5 separate regions of the Homo sapiens genome follow, and regions 2, 3, 4 and 5 are each linked to region 1. Evidence: promoter capture Hi-C in 16 types of primary human blood cells and fetal thymus (Javierre and others, 2016). All regions are on one chromosome and are shown on one strand. The core of a region is centred on a gene start or on the middle of the fragment in contact, and the rest is flanking DNA. Distances in the headings are between cores, read along the strand shown. Region 1 holds the start of ERI1 (exoribonuclease 1). Region 2 has its middle 43 kb from the start of CLDN23. Region 3 has its middle 41 kb from the start of CLDN23. Region 4 has its middle 190 kb from the start of PPP1R3B-DT. Region 5 has its middle 26 kb from the start of CLDN23.

What was found. Contacts are between HindIII fragments. The CHiCAGO score rates a contact against its expected background, and 5 or more counts as called.
Region 2: a contact is called between a fragment that was not itself captured here and the fragment with the promoter of ERI1 in region 1, in 2 of 17 cell types (total B cells and naive B cells). The highest score is 5.7, in total B cells.
Region 3: a contact is called between a fragment that was not itself captured here and the fragment with the promoter of ERI1 in region 1, in 16 of 17 cell types (total B cells, non-activated CD4 T cells, fetal thymus and 13 more). The highest score is 18.6, in total B cells.
Region 4: a fragment that was not itself captured here is called in contact with the fragment with the promoter of ERI1 in region 1 in 1 of 17 cell types (M2 macrophages); the score reaches 5.7 in M2 macrophages.
Region 5: a contact is called between a fragment that was not itself captured here and the fragment with the promoter of ERI1 in region 1, in 3 of 17 cell types (naive B cells, total B cells and M0 macrophages). The highest score is 13.1, in naive B cells.

The regions. Positions count from the first base shown.
Region 1 is chr8:9,001,579-9,004,388 of GRCh38, forward strand. It overlaps ERI1 (exoribonuclease 1), which reads left to right and starts at 1,319. Exons shown (of 7, transcript NM_153332.4): 1 at 1,319-1,593. The coding sequence starts at 1,486. It overlaps LOC105379227 (a long non-coding RNA gene), which reads right to left and starts at 1,164. Exons shown (of 3, transcript XR_002956680.2): 1 at 1,083-1,164. The HindIII fragment of the contact is 5,155 bases long and covers 1-2,283 here.
Region 2 is chr8:8,657,310-8,660,118 of GRCh38, forward strand. No RefSeq gene overlaps it. Among named protein-coding and RNA genes, the nearest start is that of CLDN23, 43 kb to the right of the region's middle. The HindIII fragment of the contact is 2,820 bases long and covers 115-2,809 here.
Region 3 is chr8:8,741,213-8,743,912 of GRCh38, forward strand. No RefSeq gene overlaps it. Among named protein-coding and RNA genes, the nearest start is that of CLDN23, 41 kb to the left of the region's middle. The HindIII fragment of the contact is 1,315 bases long and covers 737-2,051 here.
Region 4 is chr8:9,335,910-9,338,678 of GRCh38, forward strand. No RefSeq gene overlaps it. Among named protein-coding and RNA genes, the nearest start is that of PPP1R3B-DT, 190 kb to the left of the region's middle. RefSeq lists an enhancer at 1,812-2,745. The HindIII fragment of the contact is 943 bases long and covers 969-1,911 here.
Region 5 is chr8:8,674,863-8,677,779 of GRCh38, forward strand. No RefSeq gene overlaps it. Among named protein-coding and RNA genes, the nearest start is that of CLDN23, 26 kb to the right of the region's middle. The HindIII fragment of the contact is 1,120 bases long and covers 1,047-2,166 here.

The DNA of each region.
Region 1 (2,810 bases), core at 69-2,568:
TCAGATGAGCTAGTTTATCCAAGATCAGGTGAGTCAGTTTATCAATCTGGGAGGTGCCAGCTGATCCATCAAGTGCAGGGCCTGCAAAATATCTCAAGCACTGATCTTAGATTTTACAATAGTGATATTATCCCCAGGAGCAATTTGGAGAGGGTTAGAATCTTGTAGCCTTCAGCTGCATGAGTCCTAAATCATAATTTCTAATCTTTCGGCTAATTTACTAGTCCTACAAAAGCAGTCTAGTCTCAAGAAGAGGGTTTATTTTGAGAAAGGGCTATCACCTTTGTTTTAAACTATAAGCTATACACTAAGTTCCTCCCAGTGTTAGTTTGGCCTACGCCTAGGAATGAATAAGGATAGCCTGGAGGTTAAAAGCAAGATGGAGTTGGTTAGGTCTGATCTCTTTCACTGTCTCAATGATAATTTTGCAATGGCAGTTTCACATCTGAGGTTTCTATTGCGTGTTCCATGGTATTCAATAATCTCTTCACTCTGGTTGCTGGGAGCTCAAATGATTCCCAGTTCTGTGTGACCTCTCACCATTGTTTGGTGTACTGCTCCCCAGTAATTGTTCTTTCCTGGCCTTGTGGAGTTTCACGTTTTTTATTCAGTTAAAGATTCAAGGTACTCCTAAGCAGATTTCTGAAGCTCTTTTTCCATGTAATTCCCTCCTCTCCAGAATTCTGCCCTACAAATTCCAACCGACTTGGCCTACCCCAATTTCGTCAACTCCAATCTCTGTCTTTTCAACCCAGGAGATCCTAGGTTTCCATATGATTTCCTTTCATCGCACCACAGACTGGAAATCGCCTCTGGGCAAAAGGGCAGGATGATATACGGCTCCTTTTATTTCTTTTCTCTCAGGTAAAACAGTCCACAGCTGTCCGTTGTCCAATGTCTGAATAGGTGTCTCCTATATTTTGTTCCGTTTTCTAATTGTTTATAGTGGGACACTAAGTCCCGACCCATTTTCTTTTCTTGCCCAGAGTGGAAGTTTTAGGAAACTCCTTATGGAAAATGTGAATTGTTTTATTATTTTTTATGGTCGAAAACATCTTTCTCTATGATATCTTCCCACTCACCCTACTTTTTTCCTTCTCAGGAAACACTGACGGGAACACACGTGCCGGTGCTACCCTCCAGTGACTGGACTAGATCCTTGCGCAACTTCAACCCGCGCTAGCTCCGCCTACGGCCGGCCACGCCCCGTCTTCTCACCGGCGCGCCTCCCTCTTGTTCGTCCTCCCTCCCCCTGTGGACTGCGGCGCTGGCGTTCCGCGCACGCCGGCTCACTGCGCCTGCCCGGCGTGTGGACGCCACACGCTCCCGGAAGTGGGAGGTGGCCGCTGGAGTTTGTGTGGCCGCCGCCGCGGGAACGCGAGCCCGGTAATTTTTCAACGGAGAAAGGCGAGGCTTTCGGGCTCTGCAGAGTGAGAGTTAGCAAGTGTCCGGCTCCAGCAACTCTCCTCTGGCGTGACAGCCGGCATGGAGGATCCACAGAGTAAAGAGCCTGCCGGCGAGGCCGTGGCTCTCGCGCTGCTGGAGTCGCCGCGGCCGGAGGGCGGGGAGGAGCCGCCGCGTCCCAGTCCCGAGGTGAGGAGTCGACCCGCGCCTGGCTGTTGGCGCCAGCTGCCCCGTCCCCAAAGCGCCCTCGGCACCCCTTTCTTCTCAGGTGTCCCGCAGAAGGTGCAGCTGTGCGCCCTTGGACCCCAGCCTCTTCCTCGGTGCCCAGCTCCCTGGCTTTATCCTCGGGTGGGTGTCTTGGAGCCCCCTCAGGGCCGAATCACTCTCTGGGAGGGAGGAAATCGTCAAGACCAGTTCTGTCTACAGTGGGTTAACAGGTTCTAAGAGGGAGTTTTGCTTTAAACTTAATTCTGTGTTCACGGTTGCTGTTGTCACTCCATGTAGCCGTTATGGGTAGTTTGCAAGGCTTTATGTTTTTAAAATCTCACCATATACGCTAGGTATGTCACTTCATGCCTGTTTTTAAAAAAAGAAAAAATTTAAAAAGCACTCACCAGCATCCCTGTCTCTGTACCTGTTAAGTGGAGCTTCGTCTTAGCTGCTTTTGCTCATTAACTGGTGTCTCATATAACCATAGTATAAGATTGAATGAATCATTTTGACATCTCATCGGTTGAACTTAGTTACAGTGGCAAAGTTGTAGAACAGTCTTAAAACTTATTTAACGAATGTTAATTGTTGACTAGCGCTGCGGATTGTAAGTGATTGAATACTAAAATTGATCTTTTCCTAATAATAAACATGTTGAACACTTCGTAAAGCTTCATAAAGTGCGTATTTGCAAGAGGCCTCCTAACTCTTGCTCCTTCCGTCCACAGTCAGTTTCCATCTGGCAGCTAGAATGAGCTTTTCAATAACATGAATTTGGCTTATTCCCCTCCTGAGTCACTTCCATTTGCTGCTCTGCGGGGTCGGGTGCCTGCCTCCCTTGGTAATTGCATCTCACACAGTTTTTTCCCTTTTGTTCCCAGTGCCCCTCGCTGCCTTGTGTTCTTTGACATTGGAAAGAAGGTCTCGTTAAGGATCTCTGTATGTTCCTTTTGCCCTGTGTGCACTTCCTTTGGATCCTTGCAATTATCTTTCTCCTTCTAAGGTTGTTATTTCAAAGAGTACTTGCACATCCCTTCTCTTGTAAAGAACCACTCTTCCACCTGCCTCCCTCTTCAGCCTGAGATACGTTGTCAATCTCATCCTGTAAGTGGGTTTTAAAATAAATTTCGAAGTTTATTTTTAGTAAAAGAAGTGTGTTTGAATATGCTTCTTTATATTTGAAAGTCTTGACACTT
Region 2 (2,809 bases), core at 275-2,774, 340 kb before region 1:
GGGAAATAATTAGCCGCAGACCAAACACTGCTCCAGATCCACCTCACAAATTATGAAATCTAAATCTGAAGGGCTCAAACTATACCCAAGCAACTTAATTGCATCCCAGAGAAAAGCTTAAGAACAGCTATAGGAAAGCAAAGTATCACGTATCCAAAAATGGTAGTAACCACAACGGGTGGTATCTGATAAGGATTATCAAACATAGAAAGTATAAGGAAAATATAACACATGATGGGGGAAATAATTCAAAACTGACTCGAAACTGACACAGATGTTATCATTAGTAGACGAGTACATTGAGCAATTATAACCATATTCCAGATATTCAAAAAGTTAAGTAGAGAAAAATGATTTAACAAAAATACTCTAATTGAACTTCTGTAAATAAAAAACTACAATATCAAAAATTTAAAAAATTGATGGGATTAATAGTAGATTAGACATAGCAAAAAAATAGATCTGTAAATTTGAAACCATGGCAATGGAAACTATCCAAAATAAAAACACTGAGAGGAAAAACAATTTTTTTTTTCTTTTTTTGACATAGAATCTCACTCTGTTGCCCAGGCTGGAGTAGAGTGGTGCAATCTTGGCTCACTGCAACCTCCGGCTCCCAGGTTCAAGCAATTATCCTGCCACAGCCTCCTGAGTAGCTGAGATTACAGGTGTGTGCCATCACACCTGGCTAATTTTTTTGTGTGTTTTTTTAGTAGAGATGGCGTTTTGCCATGTTGACCAGGCTGGTCTTGAACTCCTGAGCTCATGTGATCCACCTGCCTCGGCCTCCCAAAATCTGGGATTACATGTGTGAGCCACCACGCTTGTCTGGAAAAAAAATTTTTAATTAAAAGAGGATCAGTGAATTCTGAGACAACTTCAACTGGCCTAATACACGTGCAGTGGAGTTGCCAGAGGAGAGGAGAGGCAACTGAACAAATATTTGAAGAAATGACAGTTGAAAACATTGCAAACTTAATTGAAACTAAAAACTCACAGATCCAAGAAGTTCAACAAACCCCCAAGCAAAAGAAGCATGAAACAAAACACTAAGACATATCATAATCAAATTGTTAAAGAAATCAATAATAGACACAAAATATTAGAGCAGCCAGAGGAAAATAATAAGATGTTACATAAAGAGGAAACAAAAATAAAGATGAGAATAGATTTTTTTAATAGAAAACAATGTAAGCCAACAGACATCTTCAAAACATTGAAAGATAAAAACTATCAAGCTAGAATTTTACACCAAGCAAGAATATCTCTCAGAAACAAAGATGAAATGAAGATGTTTTCAAACATAGAAAAACTGAAAGAATTCACTAGCAAATCCACACTGCAAGACATTTTAGAGTCTTTTAGGCAGAAGGAAGTAAGGAGCTTCACAAAAAAGGAACACCAAAAATTGTAACTATATGTGATTTTTCTTATTAAATCTATTTACAAGATAACTGAATATTTAAACAAAAATAAGAACAATGTAGTTAAACTTCATACGTGTAAGTAAAATATATTACAGTGCTAGCAGAGCAACCAGGAGGGGGAAATAGAAATATTCTATTCTGTGATTCTTTTTATTTTATTTTATTTTATTTTTTTGAGATGGAGTCTCGCTCTGTCACCCAGGCTGGAGTGCAGTGGTGCGATCTCGGCTCACTGTAAGCTCCGCCTCCTGGGTTCACGCCATTATCCTGCCTCAGCCTCCTGGGTAGCTGGGACTACAGGCACCTGCCACCATGCCTGGCTAAATTTTTCTATTTTTAGTAGAGACAGGGTTTCACCATGTTAGCCAGGATGGTCTCGATCTGCTGACCTCAGCTCTGTCACCCAGGCTGCAGTGCAGTAGCACGATCTCGGATCTGCAACTTCCACCTCCTGGGTTCAAGTAATTCTCCTGCCTCAGCCTCCCAAGTAGCAGGGATAACAGGTGCCCCCCACCATGCCCAGCTAATTTTTTTTTGTATTTTTAGTAGAGATGGGGTTTCACTGTGTTGCCCGGACTGGTCTCAAACTCCTGACCTCGTGATCCACCCACCTTGACCTCCTAAAGTGCAGGGATTACAAGCATGAGCCACCACACCCAGCCTCTATTGTATGATTCTTACACATAAAGTGGTAGGTCAGACAAAAGAAGACAGTGAAAAATTAGAATTATATGCTCTCCACTATAAACTATATACACTATATTTTACTACTAAAATGACAAAAAGATTTATAGTTAGTAAGCCAATAATAAAAAAAAAATTATTTCAAGGATCAGTTAATTCAAAAGATGGCAAAAATAGAAAAAAGTGAGTAAAGAACAGATAGGACATCTAGAAAACAAACAGCAAGATGGCAGATTTAAACCTAATCATATCAATAATCACATTAAATGTAAATGAGCTAAACAATCTTGATTAACTGCAGAAATGGTCAGACTGGATTGAAAATCTAGACCGAAATAAATACTGTCTATAAGACATGCTCTTCTTGCTCTCCTGGCCCCCACCCACACTGGCACCAGGGAAAGGCCATGTAAGCACATAGTGAGAAGGTGGCTGTTGGCAAGCCAGGAAGAGAGCCCTCACCAGAACCCAAACATGCTGGCACCCTGATCTCAGACTTTCAGCCTCCAGAACTGTGAAAAAATAAATTTCTGTTGTTAAGTCAAAAGAAGAAGAAGAAGAGGAGAAGGAAATGTTCTTTATATATTAAAACATGGGTAAAGTAAAATAATTTAAAAATTATTTTTAATGATATACCATACTAATACTAATCAAAAGAAAATTGGAGTGGCAAATTAGTAACAGTGGCACACAATAAC
Region 3 (2,700 bases), core at 144-2,643, 260 kb before region 1:
AATGGCAATTATTAAAAAGTGAAAAAATAACAGATGTTGGCAAGGTTGCAGAAAAAAAGGGAATGTTTATACACTGTTGGCAGGAATGTAAATTACTTCAGCCACTATGGAAAGCAGTTTGGAGATTTCTCAAAAAACTTGGAAATAGATCTACCATTCGACCCAGCAATCCCACTACTGCGTATATTTTCAAAGGAAAATAAATCGTTCTACCGAAAAGACACATGCACTCATATATTCATTGCAACACTATTCACAATAGCAACGACAAAGAATCATCCTAGATGCCCATCAACAGTGGATTGGATAAAGAAAATGTGATACATATACACCACGGAATACTACGCAGCCATAAAAACAGAATGAAGTTATATCCTTTGCAGCTAAGAGGATGCAGCTGGAGGCCATTATTCCAAGCAAATTAACACAGAAACAGAAAACCAAATAACCACATGTTCTCACTTGCAAGTGGGAGCTAAGCATTGGGTACTCATGGACATAAATATGGGAACAACAGATACTGTGAACCACTAGAGGAGAGAGGGCAGGCGGGCCTCAGGGGTTTAAAAACTACCTTTTAGGTACTATACTCATTACCTGGGTGATGGAATTGTTCATACCCCAAACCTCAGTGTCACACAATATACCTAGGTAACAAACCTGTACATGTACCTCTTGAATCTAAAATAAAAGTTGAAATTATTTAAGAACTAGAAATAAATTTCTGTTGCTTATAAGCTTAAAAAAATCCAGTACACCATTGATGGGCACCTAAGTTGATTTCATGTCTTTGCTATTGTAAACAGCACAGTGATGGACATACAAGTGCATGTCTCTTTTTGATAGAATGATTTCTATTTCTTTGGGTATATACCCAGTGATGGGTTTGCTGGGTCAAACGGTCGTTCTATTTTAAGTTCTTTGAGAAATCTCTAAACTGCTTTCTACAGTGGCTGATTTAATTTACATCCCCATCCATACCAACAGTGTGGAAGAGCTCCTTTTTCTCTGCGGCCTCAGCAACATCAGTTATTTTTTTACTATTTATTTATTTATTTACTTATTTATTTATTTTGAGAGGGATTCTTGCTCTATCACCCAGGCTGGAATGCAGTGGTATGATCTCGGCTCACCGCAGCCTCTGCCTCCCAGGTTCAAGCAATTCTCCTGCCTCAGCCTCCCGAGTAGCTGGGACTACAGGCACATGCCACCCTGCCCAGCTGATTTTTATATTTTCAGCAGAGATAGGGTTTCACCATGTTGGCCAGGCTGGTCTCAAATTTTTGTCCTCAAGTGATCCGCCCACCTCGGCCTCCCAAAGTGCTGGGACTACAGGCATGAGCCACCAGGCCCAGCCCTTTTGACTTTGTAATCATAGCTACTCTGGTGTCAGAAGGGAAGCAAGCACTAAAATGCTGCTGAGTGAACCAGAGACTGGGGTATATGGGCAAAGCAAGGACACAACACTCAGAGAAGGCTGAGAATCTGCACGCAGAAGGAGCCTGGGCCCTATTTCCTGGGTGGCCCCCTGGGAAAGCAGCAGGACCCAGCATCTCTCGCCCCTAAATGAAGGAGATGTCATAAGGGTCACACATAAATGGCAGTGTGGAGTCATTAAGGAGACAGCTCCAGATGCAGCCTGGCACAGGTGGCCATCAAGACGGGCACAGATGTGGTCAGAGGCCAGCAGCCCAGAGAGGCCTCGAGCTGGAGAAAGGAGGAAGCAGGGTTATCTGAAAGCCTTTCACTAGGAAACCAGATAAACTTTGAACATCTTCCAGGTGCCAATGGGCACAGACGATCAGAGGCCAGTGAGAATGAGGATTCAGCAAAAGATGCCAGGGTGGGCACACAAGCCCCAGGGGCCAGGCCCTTCACCCACTCCTTGGCACTAAACCCCCTTGAAACTCAGATGCAACCAGAGGAGGAAGGAGGGAGGTGAGAAACTCCTGGATTAACTGGAGAATACCTGAAGTGGCTAAGATTGCATTCCTATCACCAGTGCAACGTGGGCCCAAAATATAAAATCAGGGATAAAAAATAATTTCTAAAGCTTGAATTTGAGGTCTGAGACATTTGTATCTCCTAAGCAAATAAGCACTTAGCACAGCATCGGGCATGTAGTAAATGCTCCATAAACGTTAATAATGATCATTACTACCCACACAAGCTTAAATAACAAGTCATCGTGGCACGATGAGAAAGTAGCAAATGGCGAAAGGCTCAGAAGCACAGCAGCCATGGAAATGCACAGCCCCAGCCTCCTGCTGCAGGGAGCAAGTTGACTGACAGCCCCAGCCGCTGCTCCTGGCCCTGAGCTGCTCTCTGCCAAGTCCTCCATGACTGGAACTCCTCTATGGGCCCCTCGGCTCAGGAGCTCCTCTCCAGCCCGGCTGCAATGCCCGCAGAGCTGCACTGCTGCCTGGAACTCCTCGTCCCCCGCCCTCCCTCCTTCCTCCTCTCCCCTACAGAAGCCAGCCTGCATCTCTGTCTGATGCTCCTTTGCCTGGTCCTGCTTTCTCCCCTTCATCCTTCACAGGCATTCCCGCAGGAAATCTCCTGCACATCTAATCCTGTCTTGGTATCTTCTTATCAGAGGACTCAATTTCTTCAAGGGGCCTCATCCTATTATCCTCACTGTGGGCCAGAAGGACACATACAGCTTCCATGAGGAAGTCAGATTGGAGGATCAAAGGGAAT
Region 4 (2,769 bases), core at 190-2,689, 330 kb after region 1:
TGATCAAACAAATTTGGGGGGTCCACAGTAACAGCTGGCTGTGAGCCCACTGCTTCCTAATCCAGTGCCACTCAGGCAAGTGTGTTCGGTGCCTTGGTGACCTGCAGCTCTAAGTGGCTAGAGAGCTTTAATAATTCAAGGCCTCTGATTAGACTGACAGTGTCTGTCCGAGGGAGATGTGCTGTTGAGTGTTTTCTGTGTTCCAGACAAATTCACTTACAGTTTCAATTAAGCCCATTTCTTGTATACTGGGGCCCAAAAGGCAAACGCACAAAACGGGCATGTGATTGTGCTGCCAAGACAAGGGTGAGCACAAGATAGTCTGCCTACCAGAGGCTGTAGGCTGGAGTCCAGGTTGAGACTTGAAGTCAAGATAAAAAAGCGTGCTTGAATATGGTCTTTCAGGGTGGAGACTGCCACATTCTTGTCACTATTGATCTTCAAATAAACAAAACTCCAATAAAATGTTATCATTTGGAATCAATTGGAATTGATTTGCTGGATGGCAGGCAAGGCAGAAAGGATTTGGGAGGGAGGAAAAGAAAGAGAGAAAATAAGCTGGGCTTCAGGACCCATGACAGGCTGCCACCAACACAGCGCTGTCACCCCATGTGGTCCTCCCAAGGGCTTCTCCCAAGGCTTGGATGTAAACAGAGGCCTCCCCCAGATGCCAGAAACTCCACAGAGCTTCAGGGCTCATCGAAAACCTCCCACATGGCCTTGGAGAGGTCAGCGGCCATTCTGGCAGTACAGACTATACAAATTCAAATGCCAATGCCTCCATTGCTAGCTGTGGGATCTTGGGCAAATCATATCATCTCTTAGCGTCTCATTTCTCTGGGCACGAATAGCCTGTACCTGACAGGATTGTGAAGTAAGAAGCTGACAGAGTGAAGAAGCACTTAGCACACAGCTGGCCTGCAGCAAGAGCTCAAAGCATCAGTCTTTATTCTTATGATTATGCGCCAAGCTTAGGGCACCCCAGAACTTACTTATTTCCACTCCCTCTTCAATGCAGATCCAAATTCACTCTTGGGTCCAATTTAACTTGGCAGTTACACATAAGACCTAATTCCCAAATTAAAGAGCTTTGGACAAAAGTCCACCTTTGATGGCAAGTGAGGAAGGAAGCCAGGCAGTGTTGACAAGTCCTTCATCACTGACACTTTGCTCAGCCTCAGTCAAGGCTAGCCCCGGGTAAAAACGAGAGACAGGCCAAATTTGCTGTCATTGAGGTGCACCTCTCTAGCGCCTACCATCCCAGGATTTATGAGCCCCACAAGGGCTGGGGCGTTGGCACAGCCTGTCACCCTGAATCAGTAGACAGTCTTCCAGTGAAGTCGCCCAGCAAGGAAGCATGTCTGCAAAAGGGAGTGAGAACCAGCTCCGCTGGGGACACGCGCAGTCTGGAGCTGGCAAGGTGGAGCCAGGGAGAAGCAGAGCAGAGGGGGCCGATCTCCAAGCTGGGCCGGGCCCCAGCAATGGAAAGGCATCTTGTATACTGTAGAGGGACACACAGATGTTAAGGGTGTTATCCTATGATTGTTACTACTTTTCATTGGAAAGCCAGTTGTTTAATATCAACAAAGTAGTCAACAAAACAAAGGAAACCAGAGAGATCTGGGTCTGTGGCTGACACATGTGAGTTCCATCACCCTTCAGAGCCCACTACAGAGCACACTACAGACGAATTCCATCACTCTTCAGAGCCCAGCTTCCCCGTCTGTGAAGTCCTCAGAGAGCAGGGTTGCTAAATGGACTGAAAGTGATAAGATAGATCTTGTGCCTGCCACAGAGAATCAGTCAAGGTTCCTTCTCCCTTCTCTCTGGTGAAGACACAGGGTACCTTTTTTTAAAAAAACATAAAAAATGTAACTTCAGAAACTAGAAAGCAAGATTAGCACCAGGGAAAGCTTCAGTGGTGAATTGTTTTCATAGCATCTCTACTCCCTTCAAAGACCATGCAGACAGGGAGTATCTACTTTGGTGTGGTCCAGCCTTTAGCAGCCATTGCTTGCAAAAGAAGTGGTGTTTGGGAATGCTTTCAATATGCAGAGATGTTTTGTTGGCCCGGGTCCTATCTCTATGGATTCCAACAGCAGGAGCTTGCAGATGTGTGTGGAAAGGGCAGAAAAGCTTGCCCAGGAGGCTGAGCTGGAGGAGCCTCAGCGCCAGGCTTTGTGTGTTGGCTGGAATGCTTCTTGCAGCCCTCAGTGGGCGGCAAAGAAAACCACCTACAGGCCGGAGAATGTGAGGGGTGTCCAAGTGCCATGAGAACATTCTACTCAAGTCCACTTGATAGAGCTGTTGCTCCTGATGGTTTATCCTGTGTCCCCTCTGCCTGGACTGCTTCCAAGCCTCCAGGCCAGCTGGTCTAGGAGCTGCTGAGAAGCTACGTGTGCGAATTTCCTACACCGTGGCAGCCAGTAGCCAGGCACCTGTCAGGCTTCGGGGTGGGAGTTCACGGAGGGGCATGGATTTATCCTTCCACCATCAATCCAACAGAGGGCCTCTTTCTGCCCTGACCTTATTCCCTTCTGCTTCCATTATACTAACACCACCACCTCATGGACAGACCTGCTCACTACAGGTAGTATTCATTTTATTTCATTTTTTTTCAGTTACTACTGTCCTCTGGGAAAATGAATCCTCCTCCTGACAAGCGCTTCAAACTTCTAGGCTGTGGGCATGCAAAGGAAAACACAGCCCAGGAAAAATATCCCTAGGGAATATGAGCATATTAGACCCAGCGTAGCAGACATTATGTGT
Region 5 (2,917 bases), core at 357-2,856, 330 kb before region 1:
GCCTAGGCAACATGGCAAAACCCAGTCTCTATTAAAAATACAACAAAAAAGTAGCCAGGCTTGGTAGTTTGTGCCAGTGGTCCCAACTACTCAGGAGGCTGTGGTGGGAGGATCGCTTGAACTTGGGAAGTGGAAGTTGCAGTGAACTGCACTCCAGCCTAGGTGACAGAGCAACACCCTATCACAAATGAAAAAAGAAAAAAAAGTAAATATAACCCCAGGTTCTGGAGGGCCATGGGGAAGTGCTTGAATGGTGTGAGGGACTCCTTTTGCAAAGCACAACAGGGAAAGTCTCTGAGAAAATAACATCTGAGCTCTAAATGATGAGAGAGGACCACGGTGTGACAACCTCAGGGAGCAAATTCCTAGAAGAGGGATGAGCCTCTGCAAAGGCTCTAAGGGAAGAAGAAGCACAGCATGTGAGAGAGACAGAAAAACCGTCACCGAGGCCAGATCACAGTGGGTGAGGAGGAAAATGAGAAAGAGGTATGTGCAGAACAAGTCGGGGGACCAGGTCATGTTGGACCGCAGGCCAGGCCAAAGAGTTGGTATTCCATTCTAAGGGTAGTAAGAGCTTTCGGGCTTTTCAAGCCTGATCTGACTTATGCTTTCAAGAGATAACTATAGCTTCTGTATGGCTACTGGGCCATCAAGGTACAAGATACTGGCAGGAACCCAGATGAACGGTGATGGTGGCTTGGATTACAGCTTTAGTCAGGGAGATGATAAAGAGTGGTTGGGTTCAAGATACATTTTGGAAGCTGCCCAGATAGAACCTGTTGATGCACTGGACATGAAAAGAAAAAGAAAGCGGTCAAGGGTGACTTCTAGGCCAGGTGCGGTGGCTCACGCCTGTAATTCCAGCACTTTGGGAGGCCAAGGCGGGCGGATTACCTGAGGTCAGGAGTTTAAGACCAGCCTGGTCAACATGACAAAACTCCATCTCTACTAAAAATACAAAAATTAGCCAGGTGTGATGGTGGGCGCCTGTAATCTCAGCTACTCGGGAAGCTGAGGCAGGAGAATCACTTGAACCCAGGAGATGAAGCTTGCAGTGAGCCGAGATCACACCATTGCACTCCAGCCTGGGCAACAAGAGTGAAACTCCATCACAAAAAAAAAAAAAAAAAAAAACAAGGGATGACTTCTAGTTTTTTGTCTGAGCAGCTAAATTAAAGAGAGGTCCATGCAGGAAGAAAAGGAAGACTAGGCAAGAAGTGGGTGGGATGAAGACAGGGGAGAAGTTCACATGGACAGTTTGCTTTGGATCATGTTAAGTTTGAGGTGCCTCTTAGAAATCCAAGTGGACAATTCCATATGCAATTCTGGAGCTCAGATGAGAGGCTAAGGGTCTTCAACATATGCATAAGATGACTTGATGGCCTTAGCAGCAGGGAGAGACAGAGGAGAAGATATCCCAGATCAAAATCCTGGAGCACCCCCACATTTAGAAATCCACCAAGGAGAAGGGAACTAAGGAGATAAGTAAAAGAGTCGTGTCAGTGGAGGAATTCCAGGCAACAGTGCAATCCTGGAAGCCTGGAGAAAACTACATTTCCAGAAAAGCAGAGTGTTCAGCTGTGTCAAATGCTGCTCTGAGGACAGGAAATTGACAGGAATTGACCATGAGATTTAACAGATATGGAGGTCATTGTGGAACTTGATGGGCTAGAGCCAAAGAACTAATTGGAGCAGGATGATGACAAGAGTCTGTGAGAATGGAGGCCTAATATCAAGTCTTTTGAGAGGACACGCTTTGTTCAGAAGCAGAGCCCTAGAGCAGTAGCGGAAAGGAGATGTGCGATCCACAGAAGAAATTTTAAAGATGGCACCACGCAGGATACTGTATTATCTCAATTTTTACAATCGCACCATGCTACAGGTATTATTGTCCTCATTTTATGCATGAGAAACCTGAAACAGAAAAGTGAATTCCTCACGCATCAAAATTTTTAAAACCTAAAGAACAGCAAATGCTATTATTACGTGAGACCTGAACTGTTTCCACAGGACCCTCATGTCTCCCGATAAAATACAACAGCAAAGGTCAAGTACTTTTGTTTTCCTGTTCAACAGAATGACGCAGTCGTATGCCAAGCAGCCTAAGCGGCCTTATTTGTATCTTTCTGTTACTTGTTGACTTCGAATCTTTGATTAAATACAGGAAGCTTTCTGTCACTTTTGAGTCACTGGTCAGTATCTGCCTTGATCAAGCCTGAATTTGGTTTCCAAGCTGGCAGTCTTTCTTCTAGCTATGCCTCTCAAATCTTTCACATGAAATGATGCAACAAGTTTTTAGGTCATCAAAAGGTATTTTGCTGTTATTGTTGCTTTAACTCTTAAAATTGGTAACCTTAGTAGTACCCAAGATTTCAAGACTTATCAAGGCTGACACAGTCTATAGAAAGTCCAATTTTGTCTTAAACCATGACAGATTACCCTTAAAAGGAATAAACTCAAGCATTTATTTTACTGAGATTAAAAGACATATATTTACTAAGTGTCTGCTCTATGCCAGGAATGGTGTTAGAGGGAGGCTGGTAGAAAACACAAAATAGGCTGGGCACGGTGGCTCATGCCTGTAATCCCAGCACTTTGGGAGGCTAAGGCAGGTGGATCACCTGAGGTCGGAAGTTTGAGACCAGCGTGGCCAACATGGCGAAACCCCATCTCTACTAAAAATACAAAAATTAGCCAGGCGTGGTGGTGCACACCTGTAGTCCCAGCTACTCAGGAGGCTGAAGCAGGAGAATCACTCGAACCCGGGAGGGAGAGGTTGCAGTGACCTGAGATCGCGCCACTGCACTCCAGCCTGGATGACAGCCCAAGACTCCGTCTCAAAAAAAAAAGAAAAAAGAAAAGAAAAGAAAACACAAAGTTGCCAGTGCCCTTGCAGTTGTGTGACAGAGCAACCACG